Linked DNA regions of Homo sapiens: all the other regions are linked to region 2. The links are contacts of gene promoters, found by promoter capture Hi-C in human tissues and cell types (Jung and others, 2019). All regions are on one chromosome and are shown on one strand. The core of a region is centred on a gene start or on the middle of the fragment in contact, and the rest is flanking DNA. Distances in the headings are between cores, read along the strand shown.

Region 1 (3,665 bases), core at 1,135-3,634, 340 kb after region 2:
GTGCTCCAGGGTACAGCTTTATCCCTTAGCCACTGATGAAGCCTTCACATCATAGGCAACACCAAACCTGGCCTAGCTCCTAGACAAAATACTGGCCAAATCTCAAATCTGAATTTCTCCAATTCTGATTCTCATCTGTACAGCTTAACAAATCAAGTTTGTTCAAGCTCATTCACTTACAAACTTTGGCTGGCATCCAGCGTCACCATTCTGAGACCATGGGTCCCAGAAAGCCCATTACATCTGTGGTCTGTGGTCCTGTATAGCCAACAATTAGCTCCCAGATGCAATACAAACTGCCATTTCCATTCTGGTCATGGTTACCATGGGAATCACCTTATGCTTCTCTGTGGAAACCAACTATAATGCTTTTTACTAACGGCCCATGCATTGGCTCTTGGGAGACTAGAAGTATTAGGCAATCAAAGCACTTGTATTTGAACTTCCTCTCCTTTTTTAGGAGCTTAAGTATGAATGAAGAAGGGCAAGAGACAGAGAAGAAAGTGTATTCATTCCATTAGGAAAGAGGTTTCTTCTGGCCCTTTTCTTCTGTGAGTGGAGCTCAGATATTTTTACAAATTTAAGAAAAGTCATTGACAAGGGATTAATAACCAGAATATATAAGGAGCTCAAATAATTCAACAGGAGAAAAAGCTAATAACTCAAAAAGTGGGCAAAAGATTTGAATAGACACTTCTCAAAAGAAGACATACAAATGGGAAACAGGTATATGAAAAGGTACTCGGCATCATTGATCATCAGAGAAATGCAAATCAAAACTACAATGAGATATCATCTCACCCCAGTTAAAATGGATTATATCCAAAAGACCGGGAAGAACAAATGCTGGTGAGGATGTGGACAAAAGGGAACCCTCATATGCAGTTGCTGGGAATGTAAATTAGTACAGTCACTATGGAGAACAGCGTGGAGGTTCCTCAAGAACTAAAAATAGAGCTACTATATGATCCAGCAATCGCACTGCTAGGTATATATCCAAAAGAAAGCAAATCAGTATGTTTAAGAGATATCTACCTTCCCACATTTACTGCAGCACTGTTTACAACAGCCAAGATTTGGAAGCTACCTAAGTATCCATCAACAGATGAATGAATAAAGAAAATGTGGTACATATACACAATGGAGAACTATTCAGTCAAAAAAATAGATTCTGTTATTTACAACAACACTAATGGGACTAAAAGACATTTTGTCAGGCAAAAAAGACAAATTTGCATGTTCTCACTCATTTATAGGAGCTAAAAATTAAAACAACTGAACTCACTCATTGAGCTAGAGTGTAGAAGGATGGTGACCAGAGACTGGGAAGGGTAGTGGGGGTTGGGGGTTGGGGGTTGGGGATTGGGGACGGTTAATGGGTACAAAAATATAGTTAGATGGAATGAATAAGATCTAATATTTGATGGCACAATAGAGGGACTAAAGTTGACAATTTATTGTACATTTTAAAATAACTAAAAGTGCATAATTGGATTGTTTGTAACACAAAGAAAGGAAAAATGCTTAAGATGATGGATACCCCATTTACCCTGATGTGATTATTACACATTGTATGCCTGTATCAAAATATCTCAAGCACCCCATATACACCTACTATATATGCACAAAAATTAAAAATGAAAAAAATCTAATTAAAAAAAGGAAAATAGGTAACACCATGGGGACACTGTGGGGGGACACAACACCAAGAGATGTTGATTAAAGGATTCCTGATTTCAGTCAGGTAAGGGTAATAACTCCTGCATGACATGGTGACTATAATTACAATGTAGTATATTCTTGCCAGTTGCCAGGAGAGTAGATTTTAAGTGTTCATACCACAAAAAATGACCAGTATGTCAGGTAATGCATATCTTATTAGCTCAATTTGGCTATACCACAATGTATACATATTTCAAAACATTATATTGTACATGATAAATATATACAATTGTATTTGTCAATCAAAAACAATTTTTTAAGTCAAAAGTAAAAAAAAAATACACCAAGCTAGAAGTCAGGAGACCTGGCTTCTACATTTGAGTCAGTCACTAACTCTCTCTGTCAGTTGATACAATTCACTAAACCTCTTGGAGCCTGTTTTCTCATCAATAAACTGAGGAGTTTAACCAAAAAGATTTGTTTTAACCTCATCAATTAGTATTTTGATAATTTTTTCTGCTATAAATTTACAAAATAACTTCTCCTCTACATGAACAATGGTCAGTAAGAGTTGTCAGATAAAAGACAGGAAAACATAACAAAACTGAAAATAAAACATGGTTCAGGTTATAGGGCCAGAGGCCAGAGGGGCCCAGAAGCCAAAACTGCAGATGGAGTTAGGACTGTGAAACCAAACAAGCAATCTGGCATCAGAAAGCCCAAAGAGCAGATCCAGATACTCAGCAAGAAGACATCGTGGCCAAAGAATGAGGTCATCAAGAAAATCGAAAGCAAAAAGTCCTAACTGAGCCACGTGGTGGATTAGAATATGTCTATCCCAAGTCAGAAAATAACGAGTCAAAAGCCTATGAGAAAGTTAAAAAAAGTTGAGAGACATGAAAAAGAAAATCAAGTCCCAACAATTTCTCCTGTACAATGCTTGCAGTAATATGTCTCAGGCCATGCCTGGCATAGGCCACAGTCAAAGCTGTGGAAAATGTCTGCTGGGAAATGTCAGTTTCCTTTCCTGATAGAGGTTTCCAGAATTTCAATGGACAAGGCAAAAAAAAAAAAAAATCCCTGTAAAGTCAGTTAAAAACCTATGGGATCAAAAGGACAAGAGGTTTGAGGCTGAGATACAGGCACTTGGGCCTAATTTTGCACCCGTTTTGGTTTTTTTTTTGTTTTGTTTTTGTTTTTTTTTGGTCATTGCCACTGAGGTCTCCATCAAAGCTCCTGGGCTAAGCCTCTATAGGTGTGCCTTCTCATCTTGAAAATTGCCAGTATAGGGCTAGCCATATGTAGAGAGCTGAAACTGGATCCCTTCCTTACACTTTATACAAAAATTAATTCAAGATGGATTAAAGACTTAAATGTTAGACCTAAAACCATAAAAACCCTAGAAGAAAACCTAGGCAATACCATTCAGAACATAGGCATGGGCAAGGACTTCATGACAAACACCAAAAGCAATGGCAACAAAAGCCAAAATAGACAAATGGGATCTAATTAAACTAAAGAGCTTCTGCACAGCAAAAGAAACTACCATCAGAGTGAACAGGCAACCTACAGAATTGAAGAAAATTTTTGCAATCTGCCCATCTGACAAAGGGCTAATATCCAGAATCTACAAAGAACTCAAACAAATTTACAAGAAAAAAACAAATAACCCCATCAAAAAGCGGACAAAGGGTAGGAACAGACACTTCTCAAAAGAAGACAGCTATGCAGCCAACAGACCATGAAAAAATGCTCATCATCACTGGTCATCAGAGAAATGCAAATCAAAACCACAGTGAGATAGCATCTCATACCAGTTAGAATGGCAATCACTAAAAACTCAGGAAACAACAGATGCTGGAGAGGATGTGGAGGAAATACGAACGCTTTTACACTGTTGGTGGCAGTGTAAATTAGTTCAACCATTGTGGAAGACAGTGTGGAGATTCCTCAAGGATCTAGAACTAGAATTACCATTTGACCCAGCCATCCCATTACTGGGT
Region 2 (3,426 bases), core at 193-2,692:
GCGCGGGGCTGGGAGGGGCCAGGCCCACTAGGCTTCCCCTCTTGGGCACACCGTTCCTACCAGCCAAGAAGAGGACGGAGCCCACGCCACCCAAAACTGCTCCCTGTAGCGGGAGGGGGTGTGCGAGCGAGCCAAGGACTAAGGGAGCAACTGCTGGCAAGCAAGGCGACCAAGGAGTGAGCGGCGCCCGAGAGATCCTCGCCGATACCACCTCGAACACGTCTCCACGCTCCCCTTTCCTTTGCAGAGGCACCAGGCTGCAAAGACACAAAGCTTAGTTAGAATCTCGGCCGCTGCCCAGGGGAGTGCTGTCGGGAAAGATCAACCACCACCGCAAAGCGGCCCTCTGGGCACACTGCCTGAGCTGGGCGCTGCCTGTATTTTCGGTCAGCGGACCCCAGCCTGCCGGCCCGTGGCCGTGCACCAGAGCCACCAGCAGCCTGCTCATGCCACTCGACAGGATGGGGTCTGCGCCGGCACCGCGGAGGTGCAGATTACTCAGCAGATAAGGCAGCCTCCCTTCCGCCCTTCACAACTTTATAATTGCAACAGACACGCAGCCGCTTTGGTTGAAGTCCCTACTTCCCAGAGCGCCGGCTCTCCTCTTTTCTGCGCCCTCTCGGTTGATGTCTTCGCCTGGATCCTACCCTTCCCAGCACCCACTCCGGGCCGCCGCGCGGGCTCCGGGTACGCAGTCCTCCCTTCCTTTCCCTCCCCGTCCAGACTCGCCCTCCCTGGACAGCGTCAGATCCCTTGGGTCCCATTCCCAGGGGGATACCCCTGGCACCACATCCCACTCTGCCTCTGTCCGCGACCGCGGCTGACGCGCAGGAACGCGCTCCATCTCTTCTCCAGCCTTCTTCCCTGGTATTCTCCCCTCTCCAAAAAAAAAAAAAAAAAAAAAAAAAAGCAGCTGAAGCATCTTTCTCAGCTGACACATTCCCACAAACGGCCCCCTCCTCCCCATTTCCCTGTGCCCCCAACTTGGCAGTAGCCTGCTTCTTTCTAGAGGAGCTGGAATGGAAAGGGGAGGGTTCCCGCCTGCAAAGTTTGGGGAACGGGACCTTCTTTCTGTCCTTCCCAGACCCAGCCCAAAGGCCCCGAGGCTTTTCCGGCATACTGGAGCCGGTAGACCCGCAGCGCACAGGAGAGCCTCCTTGCTGCTCCCAAGAGGCAGCTGCAAACTGTTGCACTGCGGAGTAGCGAGGTAGCGCGCAAGCAAGCCAGGGCAGGGGCCGGGGGCAGGGGCGGGGGCTGGAGCTATGGCCAGGGGTGGCTGCTCAGGCCGCGTGAGCTGTCCTCCCCACTCGCACCTGGCCGTCAGGCCACCCGGCCATCAGAAGCCTTTACTCACACCTTGTCTCTTACCTGGACCGCCGGCTGGCTGCAAGGAGGGAGCCCCCGCCGCGCGGCTGCAGTGGCGGCTGCAGAAAGCGTGGAGTGAATGGACCAGAGACCGAGCCGCGCTGCTGCCGCCGCCGCCGCCGCCGCCGCCGCCTTCGCCGCCGCTTCAGGGAGCTGAGCTCGCAGCCTATTGCCAGAGAGGCCGGTGACGTCAGGCAGCCACCGCCAGGGCTCCAAGCCACCCCTCAGGCCCCCACCCACCCTAGTACCCCAACACCTTGTCCTAGCATAGCGAGCCTCTGACACACACTTCCCAGTTCCCTGCCCTTCTCCAGCCCAGGAACTAGGAGGAGCAACCCCTACCTCCACCCTGCAAGCAACCCACCTTTCTCACTCTCTTGCCTAGGAAGAGTTGAATCTTCAGTTCTCCAGCTGTCTGATTTCGTTCTAGAGCTGACCCTTTGGTCCCAGAATCACATTTTTACACTCTGGATAGCCATCTACCATCGGTGCACACATCACCGGTGGTGATGAAAATTTCCCCCACCGCTAATTCCTCTCTGTGCTGCCCGTTTCTGAACATAAACTGCGTGCATTAGAGAGATGGCAGGGACGTTTCTCAACATAAGTGTGACAGAACCCAAAACACAAACCTGAACAAATTAAACAATCCAAATTAGCCATTTTTCTCCACTGGAGTTTCCAAGTTATCTTTCGCTCCATCTGATTCAAGATCCTCCTTCTTGCATCCCTCACATCTTCATCTCCAGGCCCCAGACCCACTCAATGTATTAAACACTCCTTCTATTCTGACAATCTAGACACTCATGAGCACACAAACCCTAGTCTTACAAGGAAGAAATATGAAATTATTCACAGGAAGGCAGAAATGAACTGCCTTATGAAAATTCCAAGTATTTGTAGCTTGCACAAAGTACCCCTTCATTGACCCTAATTCTTGGTAAAGTGTTTGGAGCACAACTTTTAGCAAAATACATAGAACTTCCAGAAAAGAATTCAACAGCCTCCCTAAATCTTGGAAGAGACTAGTTAACTATTGGTTTAGGAGCCTTGGAAAAATATGAATAGTGCATTTGGTTACAGAATCCAGCTTTGAAATGGAGTATGCTCATTTTTCTGTTGGAGAAGCTAGCTGGGAACAGTACCTAAAGACATTGCATGGTCTTTGAAGGCACTCAGGTGTCTTACTAAACGTGCGTTTTCTTCTTTGCTCCCTGTCTTCTTTTCTATCTTTGAGTCTAGCACAGTGCCTGTAGTTTACTTGATAAATTGAATGATACAGTGTATGTTGTTGCTCTTTCCTGCAATGCATCAGAAATGACTGATGCCCAGTTATCTGCTTGTATTTGCTGTATTTGTAAAGAAAGAGGGTCTGATATGTGGAGGAAAGGCTGTCTGTAATCTGGGGGTCCCTTCTTCGGACTCTGTGTTTAGGGTCATACAGTTACTGATGTCTGCCCCCCGCCCCCACCCCAATGCTAGCCTCACCTTCCTGACTGGAATGAGAGCACCAGATGCCTGCAATAGCCACCTGCCACATTTGGACAATTTGACTTTGGTGGGCTTAGGGGATGGAATGGTGAGCCTTTTTATTTATTTATTTATTTTTTACGCTGTGACTAAGTGACACTTTACCATTGATGCCTGACAGGCAATGTCCCATTTTTTCACACTCGCTTTGCTCCTGAAAAGTTGAGTCTAATAAACATTTTGTAAAGCAAATCCAATTTTGGATTCTCCAAAAAGAGATCTGGCTATTTCAAGAGACTCTTTAGCAAAAAATAAAAAATTTTTTAAAAAATGTTATTTTGTAAAGCAAAGAATTTTTATGCAATTAGAATTAACTCTTGGCCAGGCACGGTGGCTCATGCCTGTAATGTCAGCACTTTGGGAGGCTGAGGCAGGTGGATCACCTGAGGTCAGGAGTTAGAGGTCAGCCTGGCCAACATGGTGAAACCCTGTCTCTACTAAAAATAACAAAATAAATAAATAAATAAATAAATAAATAAATAAATAAATAAATAAAAGCCGGGCATGGTGACAGGCACCTGTAATTCCAGC
Region 3 (3,560 bases), core at 690-3,189, 440 kb after region 2:
GAAAGCTCTGGACCAGGAGTCTGCCTAGGTCTCCTCACCTGTAGGGTGGAGGACAAAACTCCTGCCTTCCAGGACTCTTGGAAGGTTAAAGGAAAATGCTTCATAAACAGCCATGCAAAAGCAAAGTGATGGAAGCTGTTATCATCACATCCTCATCCCAAAGGCTGTTATGGGTCTTGCTTTCCAGGCCCATGCTTCTGCTCCATTCAAGCCTGACAAGTTTCAGAAAACACATTGCTTCACACCTCTATTTTTACAATCCCCATTAGCAACAAGAGGCATCAGAGTGATTAAGCCAGTGCTACTATTAACAGTCTCTCATTGATTTATGACAATGCAAACAGAAGCATCATATGGGTATAGTTTCACTGGATACATTAACTGTGCAATAAAAGATGTTATTTATCATTAATAAACTTAAATCAATCCTGACTCTGATAAAAAGATAAGAATAAAAGATCTTAGTGGGTTCAAGTGTCTAGGAGGAAAGCATCATTCTGTGTTTTGCTTTTGTTCTCTGCTTTTGTCTTTCCTAACAAGGATCTTCTTCTCTCTAGTTCTTTTGGCAGGGAAATAACAACATTTTTCTTCACTAGAGCGCTCAGCAATTGTAGGATGTGTTTGCCTTGACTTACTGCCCTCCCACTCATAACAGAGGAAGGCATCTTTTCTCCAAAGGGCAAAAAGCAACTGAGAAATTCTGGAAGCATCACTAATCCCACAAACTGGCAACCCAGGGTAGTGGCTCAGAGACAGGCTTCCTTTTAGAGTCAGAAATATTTCAGTTCTAACTACATTCCTCCACTTGATCACCTGAACTAGTCATTCAAAGATTTCTTCAGCCTCTTTTAGTTTCCATTTTCTTGGCTTTGGAACATGAAGATGCTCTATAACTTATCAGTGAGGATAACATTAAGTAAGATAATTATTTAAAAAGAACCTATCCCAATAGCAAGTATGCAGTAATTTAATATTAGTTTTTGTTAATAAACACCATTTACTTCTACCCTAAAATGCCCATGTATTCTTCAAAGAAAATAAAATGCTGATGCATCCAAAGCTAGGGTTATAAATCTGGAGACTGTGGCTCGGATGAGTGATTCCCAAACCTGCCTGCTCATCGGAATTTTCTGACGAACTTAAATTGCAGAGGCCACATCCCCAGTGAATCAGAACCCCCTGGGAGAGGGTGTCATGGCAAGAAACTGTGTCTATTAAAAGCTTCCCAGGTGATCTTGATGAGCAGTTGTGTATGGGAACCAGTGGCTGAGACAATCAAGGCTCGAGAAAAATTAGTCCCGTTACATAAAAAGCAAAAGCTAAAAAAAAAAAAATTGCCTCTCAATTTCATTTCCAAATATGTCTCTAAGTTGCCTTTTAAGAAACTATTTTGGAGAATGCCTTGTATGTGTGATTAAATGTGATAAATATAAATATGTAAAGAAACAATATTCACAGAAGAAAAACACTCATGGCAGCCAGCAAAGGTACACGTTGCCATAAATGAGCTTCATGAAACACAGACACATTGTGTGATGAAAAACATGAACCAATCCATCTTTTAGCTTTTATGTTACAATTGGTTAAAATTCAGTAAAGGGTCCTGAGGGCCACTGCAAACTCTTCCCTGATAATGTGGTCCAGAAAAGCCTACAGGAAGTTGTGTAACATCTCAAGAAAGGGTGGTATATGGGAAGCACACATGGATGCCAGCTTCCTTTATATTTGCCCTTAAGGCTGGTCCTTTCCTGTGTATGCTGCCTACCCAGTGGCCCAAGGCAAAAACCTGGCAACACCCATGACTCCCCCTTTCCCCCCAACCTGCCTTACCTGCACAGTGACCAATGTATCCTCTCTATTTCACCTTCTAATCATCTTTCCTCTTGTGCCCCTCTACTGGACCATCACTGGCCCCAAAGAGGCTGTCATTTTCCCATCCTAGCCATTCCAGTGCCCTTGAAAGACAGGAATCTGAATCTGCTTGGGACCAAGGTCCTAACAAAAATGCACTCAGGAACTCATGGATGCTGAAGGTAGACAATGCAATAGATGGGACAGGCAGGTACAAAACTCTCTGGGCCTGATTTGAGACCCTTCAGAGAGGCCTATGTAGAGTCTGCTGGTCTAGAGAGTCTTGTGCCTTTTTATTGGACAAGTCATGGAAAGGGAGGGTCACCAATCCCAGGGTCAAGGTCTCTAGCCAGAGGCTCCAAAAATTTCTATCCACAGAATAAAGATAACACACTATAGGGTAATATAAGACAACAGGCAAGATCTGGGTCAGAGCAGGTATGGATTTGAGTGCATTGCTGCTGTGTCATCTTAGACAAATTTATGACTCTGAACCCCAGCTTCCCTATTTGAAAATGAGAATAACAATGCCCATTTTACAGAGCTACTCTGAGAATTAAAAATATTTAAAATTTAAAAATGCCCAACATGCAGCAATCACTCAATAAATTCTAGCTAATACTGTTATCAATAACTGGATGTATATGTATGTAAGTTTGTGTATTAGAAAGAAACTGAAAAGATGTATTCAAAAGAGAACTATTCTTTAGGGTTACATCATCCTTGGTTTCAATTTTTGATATTTTATTAATTTCCCCACAGCTTAGAAATCTAAGATTCTTCATCCTTTAACAACACAGTATAAATCCAATGCCACTTTGATGACAGTAAGGCCATCAAAATGTGGAAGGGTGAGGGATGAGAGTAGAGAACAGATATGGGTGAGAAACATACTTAAAATGAATGACTTTTGAAGCCTTCTTACAACAAAACAACCAATCACCAATGGCCTTGACCAAAAGGAAAAAAGAGTACACATTGAAATACAAGATGTTATCACATTCACCTATACTATCTACCCAGAATTGGGACATCCATTTGCAGCATGTGAACAAAGTATAATCTTAAATAAACCATGTATTAGTCTGTTTTCATGCTCCTGATAAAGACATATCTGAGACTATGTAATTTATAAAGAAAAGAGGTTTAGTGGACTCACAGTTCCTCATGGCTGGGGAGGCCTCACAATCATGGTGGAAGGTGAAAGACAATTTTTACATGGCAGTGGCAAGAAAGAATGAGAACCAAGTCAAAGGGGTTTCCCCTTATAAAACCATCAGATCTCGTGAGACTTATTCACTACCATGAGAACAGTATGGGTGAAACAACCCCCATGATTCAATTATCTCCCACCGGTCCCTCCCACAACACATGGGAATTATGGGAGCTTCAATTCAAGATGAGATTTGGGTGGGGACACAGCCAAACCATATCAAACTGTATGAGGGTAAATAAAGCTAGCTGCTAGAGTGACAACCCCCAAATCTCAGTGGTGCCATACCATTATGCTCTGTTTCTTACAAGACAGGATCATCATTTCACAAGACAAGAACACATGGTCATGCAAAGACCCAGACGCCTTGCATCCTAGGACCCCATCTCTTTGGAATCCTCTCCAGCCCACTGGTAAACTGGAGGAGAGAAAGATGATCAGAAATGGTAGGTTCTTATGGATCAGGGCTGGAAATAGGCCTCATCCACTCTTCCAC

The links. Contacts are between HindIII fragments. The study calls those that stand out against the background at their distance.
Region 1: a contact is called between a fragment that was not itself captured here and the fragment with the promoter of C11orf87 in region 2, in 1 of the 25 tissues and cell types used here (H1 embryonic stem cells).
Region 3: a contact is called between a fragment that was not itself captured here and the fragment with the promoter of C11orf87 in region 2, in 1 of the 25 tissues and cell types used here (dorsolateral prefrontal cortex).

Annotation. Positions count from the first base shown.
Region 1 is chr11:109,084,904-109,088,568 of GRCh38, reverse strand. No RefSeq gene overlaps it. Among named protein-coding and RNA genes, the nearest start is that of C11orf87, 340 kb to the left of the region's middle. The HindIII fragment of the contact is 9,594 bases long and covers 1-3,665 here.
Region 2 is chr11:109,420,206-109,423,631 of GRCh38, reverse strand. It overlaps C11orf87 (chromosome 11 open reading frame 87), which reads right to left and starts at 1,442. Exons shown (of 2, transcript NM_207645.4): 1 at 1,369-1,442; 2 at 1-257. The HindIII fragment of the contact is 6,027 bases long and covers 1-3,426 here.
Region 3 is chr11:108,981,412-108,984,971 of GRCh38, reverse strand. No RefSeq gene overlaps it. Among named protein-coding and RNA genes, the nearest start is that of DDX10, 320 kb to the right of the region's middle. The HindIII fragment of the contact is 6,435 bases long and covers 1-3,560 here.